2 separate regions of the Homo sapiens genome follow, and region 1 is linked to region 2. The links are contacts of gene promoters, found by promoter capture Hi-C in blood cells and fetal thymus (Javierre and others, 2016). All regions are on one chromosome and are shown on one strand. The core of a region is centred on a gene start or on the middle of the fragment in contact, and the rest is flanking DNA. Distances in the headings are between cores, read along the strand shown. Region 1 overlaps NHSL2 (NHS like 2). Region 2 holds the start of IL2RG (interleukin 2 receptor subunit gamma).

Region 1 (3,445 bases), core at 241-2,740, 990 kb after region 2:
ACCAGAACAGCCGAGCCAAGTACAGTCAGGCCTCGCTTCACAATGGGGATACGCTACGAGAGAAATGCGTCATTAGGTGATTTCCTCATTGTGCAAACATCATAGAGTGTACTTACACAGACCTAGATAGTGTAGCCTGCTGCACACCTAGGCTATATGGTACAGCCTATGGCTCCAAGGCTACAAACCCATACAGCACGTGACTGTGCTGAATACTACAGGCAGTTGTAACACGATGGTACTTATCTGTGTATCTAAACATAACTAAACCTAGAAAAGATAGAGCAAAACTATGGTATCATCTAATGGGGCCACTGTCATATATGCAGTTGTCATATATGCAGTCCATTAAGCAGGGGTCCTCAACCCCTGGGCCATGGACCCGTACCAGTCCATGACCTGTTAAGAACTGGGTCACACAGCAGGAGGTGAGTGGCAGGCGGGCGAGCATTACCGCCTGAGCTCCACCTCCTGTCAGATCAGCAGCGGCATTAGATTCTCATAGGAGCAGGAACCCTACTGTGAGCTGTGCATGTGAGGGATCTCAATTACTTGCTCCTTATAAGAATCTAACTAATGCCTGATGATCTGAGGTGGAACAGTTTCATCCTGAATCCATGCCCCCACCCAAGTCCGTGGAGAAATTGTCTTCCACAAAACCAGTCCCTAGTGCCAAAAAGGTTGGGGACTGCTGTGTTAACTTACATGCCATTATGTGGCATATTGCTGTACAAATGGCCCTGGCCTTTCCACAAGCCGTAGCATGGCCACAGAGATATAGAAAGAGCCTGAGTGCTCACGAGGTGATTATCTGAGGTCTGTCACAGGTTCCCCTTTCTTTGCTTTCAGAGGCATCTCTGTTCACAGCGTCTCATCACACTCAAAACCCAATGCCTGTTTCCTTTTTTTTTTTTTTTTCAAAAGCAGAGTGTGTGGCAACGGGGCTCTGAGGAAATCCCTACCACTGTGGTTGGGGAGGGTGTGGTGTGAAGAACCCACATTGTGGCTTACTCAACTGTGAGATCTTAACTCTGTGGCCCCAGAGCCACTGTGCTCCTGGGCGGCAGTGGTGACAGCCATGGCGGCACAGCTTAGAGCCTGGAATGGTAAGCATGGGCTCAATTGCATCCTGCAAGAAGACTCGCATCAGGGTTTGAGCTCGGGGTTTGGTGTCTGGGTGGGTGTCGGCAGAATGGGAGGAGGCAGGTGGCTGGAGAGCACTGGGGACAGGTGGAGCAGCCAGTTTTGCCCTGGCCTGAGTCAGGCCAGGTTTGGGAAGCATTTGGACTCCACAGCAGGCTTGGGTGCTCGGCCCCTGGATTGACAGGAAGCTGAGAAATGTGATTATCTCCCACGGGACAACATGCTGTCCCCAAACAAAGGTGGCGGTCGCATGCCCACTGCCTAAGTTCTAAACGAGCCCTCCCCCAGCCTTTTCTCCCCAAGCTGGCCAGCTACAAGACCCAACCCCATGGTGGAGCCGAGGGTTCAGAGCAGCTAGGCACAGGAGAAAGGAATTTCCTCCTGTGGCTGCCTGGGAGGGAGCTCTTTTTCATCGGCCCCACCTGCCAGCTTCCCCATTACCAGGCCGAGGAGTGGAACACCAGCATTCCTTTTCCCTTCCTACTGCTGCCTCCTCCAGCCCTGCAGCCTAGAAACTCTCAGTGGTATCAGACTCCTGAAGCACCAGGCAACAGCCCAGCTTCTTTCTGCTTGGTCACACAAGCTGTGGCCTCCCAAATCATGCCTGGGCTAGGAAGACAGAGCAGTGTCACAGGAAATCTAAGTCCCATGCACATGGTGATCTCACCCCAGCCTCTACTGCTTCAGCCCCCTCCTGAGGCTGGCCAAAGCGTAGAAGCCCTGCTGATTAAGCCTCTTCCCTGAATGTTGGCAGCCTAGGCTCTGCACTAACTTAGCACCTAGTGCAGAGCCTGTCACGTGCATGGGAGCTACCCAGTAGCATTCTCTTGGACGGATAAATGCATGGGTGAATTAACATGCTTTGGATATTGTCTTTGTTGTACCTCCTCAGGGCTCCCAAAGCCTTAAAACTAGAACTTGTCACCTCATCACTTTAGAACCTTCTATTTGCAGGCATCTATGCACCTGCTGATCTCTCCCACTAAGAAAAGGTGACAAGAGAAACCAGCCAGGGGATTCCTGAGGGTAGTCTAGGAGTCTCGAAGCCTTGCAGTGGTCTTCCAGGCTGAATCATCCTACCTCGAGAACCAAGAGCATGAGAGTTGGCATCAGACAGACTTAGTTCAAGTCTCAACCCTGCTATTTCCTGTATATATAATCTTAGTCAAAAGTCATTTCACCACTCTTAAGATTTAGTACTCTACTCTGTAAAATGGGGCTAAAAATACCTACCCAGCATTATGGTGAGGAATAAATGAGAAAATGTGTTAGGTTGAATCCTATGAAACTGTCCAAAGCATTTAAATGCCAGCAAATTTGTATGGTTCAACCTAATATATAAAGTAGCCTTTATAAACTATAAAGTATAATAAATAGCCCTATATAAGTATTCATTATTCTTAACAGATATAATTTGTAAGTCACAGAATATTGTTTCTTGCAGTATTAGTAATCCCTTTCATCAGAATACAGGTCAAACTAACAGAAGAAGCCACTTATCTGACAATCGTGGGCTGCAGGCATTTCCTGGAGCATTTTGGCCTGGGAAATAGGGAGCAGGTATTTTTAGGAAACTAGACTGGTTCATGGAAAGCAATGGAGGTGAACACCAGGGTGACTCGTGACAGCTCCTACCTGGAAATGATTAACCCGCAAAAGCACAGTAGGAGTTGGCACATTCTCTTGCCCCAGATGGGAGTACCCACTCCCTAGCTCCAGTAGCAAAGCAGAGGCTGCCTAGGACAAACATTCCTTCCCGGGGGACAGAGCCAAAGGGTCCTAGGCCAGCAGACATCTGGAGGAAACTAAAAACAGCTTCTTGCCAACTTTTCCCTCCCTAGTGGCAGCTATCAAGCCCAGGTAGCTCCTCTTGACCTAGCAAAGTCCCACGCCTGGGAAAGCTTGGATTTGGAACTGATAGCTGCAGTGGCCACAGTGGAGGGAGTGGGGGAAGGTTCTCACCATATTATGCATCGCTCCCTCAATCCCAATCCTAGATGTAAAGGTCACTGGGATTTCAGGCCAGAGGGGACTGGGAAGAGTCCAGAGAAGTGCCCACAGATTTGCTCTGCCTCCGTTGCTGGCACCCCAGGCCAAGGACTACTGAAGCACTAAACAAACAGTTATAAACTTCCTAAGCAGTGTTTCTCACCGAGGGCATCATGGCCCTTGTGGGTAAGACAATTCTTCATTGTACAGGACAGTCCCATGCATTGCAGAACATTTAGAATCTGGTAGCAAGGTAAGAGTAGAGCTGGATGAGTCCCAGGTCCAAGGTTCAGGAGAAGGATCCAAGCAGAGT
Region 2 (3,889 bases), core at 1-2,500:
CCTGGCCTAGACAAGTCAGGATCCTGAAGGTAGTGCCCCTAATACCTCCTCCCTTCCCATCATGATCCCCTACCTCCTCTTTTCTGCCCATGTACCCTTATGATAAAAGAACACTACTCTGTAGACTCCAATGTCCCACAGTATCCCTGGTCTCTTGACCCTTTCTTTCCAAATTACCCAGATTCTGCAGTTTTAGCATCTGTGTGGCCTGTCTCCTGGGTTCCCGTGGGTCCTGGAGCTGAACAACAAATGTTTGGTAGAGGTGGATCTCCTTTTTTTGCAACTGACAGCCAGAAGTGATTTCTTCAGAGAATAGATAGTGGCTGCACTTCTGGACTTTATCATTATCCGAGTTCTTGTACCTAGAGGAGAAAGGTTGGAAGGAAGAGGAACAGTGGGGCCAATCTGGGTACTGCAGATATCCAGAGCCTAGCCTCATCTCCCCTCAACCGACTTATGACTTACCCCAGGAGAAAACAGTGGGGTACCTGGGAGACTTGCTACCCTCTCTCTTGGTCTCTGATCCAACCCACCTCTTCTTCATCCCCTCCCCCTCGTCCCTTCTCATACCAATAATGCAGAGTGAGGTTGGTAGGCTGGGGCTCAGAGCTGCTGTTCCAAGTGCAATTCATGTACTCGACATTGAACACAAAACACTGAACCTCTGGGAGGGGCAGAGTGGAAACACTGAGGGAGTCAGTGGGCATAGTGGTCAGGAAGAAATCTAGATTGGGGAGAAAATGAAGGCAGGGAGGGAAAGAGAAATGATGGTCAGAAGGAGGAGGCCAAGCACGGTGGCTCATGTCTGTAATCCTGGTGCTTTGAAAGGCTGAGGCAGGAGGATCACTAGAGGCCAGGAGTTTGAGACCAGCCTAGGCAACATAGTGAGACCCTGCCTCAAAAGAAAGAAAGAAACAAACAAACAAGAAAGAAAGAAGAAGTAGCGTGAGGCAGGGAACCCTCCCCCTTGCCCTTCCCACTCCACTTTTCAATTCTGCCCACATGATTGTAATGGCCAGTGGCAGGCACCAGATCTCTGTACGGCCCCTTCCCACAGCCACCCTTCTCACCAGCCCCCTCCAGTCCCAGATTTCCCACCAGCTGTGGTGTCTTCATTCCCATTGGGCGTCAGAATTGTCGTGTTCAGCCCCACTCCCAGCAGGGGCAGCTGCAGGAATAAGAGGGATGTGAATGGTAATGATGGCTTCAACATGGCGCTTGCTCTTCATTCCCTGGGTGTAGTCTGTCTGTGTCAGGAACCTGGGTCCCTCACCCACTACCCCTCCCCACCCACACGTTTCCTCTGTCATAGCTTCCGGTGGAAAGAACCTTATAAACCAGGGCTTTACAGAGGGTGTGGCAAATATGTGCTGTGTGACACGGGCTAAGTCCTCTAGGAGATTAGGTGCTGCTGTAAGGTGGTAAACAGAAACTAAAGCTGGATATACAATAGTGTCACAGACTCAAAAATCCTCAGCCCACCTAGATCCTGGGAAGGATCTGTTCACTACCACTAGCACCATTCTCAACCACCTTCTCCTCTAAATCATTACCTTCTATAATGGAAGTTCTGAACCCCCACCCCCGACATCACCGTTCTATGCCATGCCTCTTCCTTGACTTGGTCACCCTTAAATCTCTGTCAAAGCTCTACTGTTTTGGGAGGATGGAAAATACCGTCTTGGCTCCTGTGGGCACATATACAGCTGTCTTTCCTCTGATCTAATCCAAACCAGAATACCCACCCTTAGCTGCTGCCTGAGCTGGGTCCCTGTTGAGACTGGCGAGGAAGTGTGACTTATAATACAAAAATATTCTAGAAATGGAGGAACAACAATACTAGCTTCAAGCTTCCCATCTTCCCCCAACTCTGCTTCTCTTCCTGCCTTCCCCACCTCAGTCAATGGTATCGTCACCCTCTCAGTCACCCAGACTTGAAACCTCAGAATCAGCTTCAATTTCTCCCCCTCTCTCACCCAGAGAATATAACCCACTCTGCTTCTGTGGTGTTTCTCCCAACGGTTTCCTCCTTTCCATTACCACAGCCACTCTGCTAAATCAGTCTTTCATTAGCTCTAGTCATGATTCTATCTAGACTCCATCAACTGGCCTCCCTTTCTAAAGGCCCTCTGCTCTCTAATCCATTCTTCATCCTGTTGCCAGTTTTACCTTCCCCGAAAACACAGAGGTGATTGGAGAAGCCACTTACAGAAACTATTTATTCAGCAAACATTTATTACGTTTTTAATATGTGCCAGGCACTGTGCTTATGTTCTGGAAATAGACCAACAAGACATCCTCATATTTCTAGACACTCACAGAAAAGTGGGGAAGACATAAACAAGTAATACAACATAGTGTAACAAGTCCTATAGCATAAATGTAGAGATACTACAAAGTATGTGAGCACAGAAGAGGAAGTAACTAAATTTACCAAGATGGAGAGGGGGATAGTTTAGTGAAGGCTGTGCTGAAGAGGTGCTATTTCAGTGGCATCTTAAAGAATGAGTGTAATTTTACCAGACAGAAAGTGGTGTAGGATATTAAGCAAAGAAAAACAGCACTTGCCTGGGAGTCTCAGGAAAACTGGACTATATGGCCCAGCTTAGTATTTAGTATGTATCTTTAGTATGTATTAGTTTGCTAGGGCTGCCATAAGTTATCCCCAAACTGAGTGGCTTAAACCAACAGAAATTTATTCTCTCGGCTGGGTGCAGTGACTCACGCCTGCAATCCCAGCACTTTGGGAGGCCAAGGCAGGTGGATTGCTTGAGGAGTTCGAGACCAGCCTGGCCAACCTGGTGAAACCCCGTCTCTACTAAAAATACAAAAATTAGCCAGACATGGTGGCAACACCTGTAATCCCAGCTACTCGGGAGGCTGAAACATGAGAATCGCTTGAATCTAGGAGGCAGAGGTTGCAGTGAGCCAAAATTGCGCCACTGCACTCTAGCCTGTGCAACAGAGTGAGACTCCATCTCAAATAAATAAATAAATAAATAAATAAAAATTTTTTAAAAAGGAAAAAAAGGCATTTATTTTCTCACAGTTCTGGAGCCCAGAAGTCCGAAATCAGTGTGGCCAGGGTTGGTCCCTTCTGGAGGCGCTGAGGAAGAAGTTGTTCCATGCCTCTCTTCTAGCTTCTGGTGGCTGCCGTCGATCCTTGGTGCTCCTTGGCTTGTAGACACATCATTCCAATCTCTGCCTCCATCTTTGCATTACCTCTTCTTCTTCTCTGCATCTCCTTTATCCTTCTCTTCTCTTACAGGGACACCTGTCATTGGATTTATGGCCCACCCTAATCCAGGGTGTTCTCTCCTAGGAGCTTTGCCTTAATTACAGCTGCTAAAAGCCTTTTGTCAAAGAAGGTGACATCCACAGGTTCCAAGTGAACATATCTTTTTGGAGGCCACATTCAACCCACTACAGAGGGCATTCTCCAATTTAAAAGTCTTCAAAAGCTACTCATGGCCTTCAGAATAAAGCCCAAGCTCCAATGATCAATTCCAGCCACACTGGATATGTCATACGCATTTCCTTTCTCTGGAATTAGCCTCTTCCTAACTTTCTGTAGGCTAAAATCCTTCAGAAGGCAAAACCCCATCTCTACAAAAATACAAAAATTAGCCACGTTTGGTAGCACTCACCTGTAGTCCCAGCTACTCAGGTGGCTGAGGCACAAGAATCACTTGAACCCAGGAGGCAGAGGTTGCAGTGAACTGAGATCGCACACTGCACTCCAGCCAGAGTGACAGAGCAAGACTCTGCCTAAAAAATAAAATAAATAAAATAAATAAATCCTTCAGGGCTACATGCCTATTAGAATAGCCAAAATGGGCTGGGCAAGGTGGCTCACACCTTGCCTGAAATCCCAGCACTTTGGGAGGCT

Evidence for each region. The method cuts DNA at HindIII sites, captures the fragments that hold promoters and counts their contacts. A CHiCAGO score of 5 or more calls a contact.
Region 1: a fragment that was not itself captured here is called in contact with the fragment with the promoter of IL2RG in region 2 in 1 of 17 cell types (total CD4 T cells); the score reaches 5.0 in total CD4 T cells.

The regions. Positions count from the first base shown.
Region 1 is chrX:72,100,137-72,103,581 of GRCh38, forward strand. The region is part of intron 1 of NHSL2 (NHS like 2); the gene reads left to right. Among named protein-coding and RNA genes, the nearest start is that of RTL5, 30 kb to the right of the region's middle. RefSeq lists a silencer at 981-1,100. The HindIII fragment of the contact is 3,103 bases long and covers 1-3,042 here.
Region 2 is chrX:71,110,327-71,114,215 of GRCh38, forward strand. IL2RG (interleukin 2 receptor subunit gamma) reads right to left here and starts at 1,251. Exons shown (of 8, transcript NM_000206.3): 1 at 1,099-1,251; 2 at 571-724; 3 at 178-362. The coding sequence starts at 1,213. RefSeq lists enhancers at 712-1,911, 1,014-1,403. The HindIII fragment of the contact is 3,788 bases long and covers 1-1,848 here.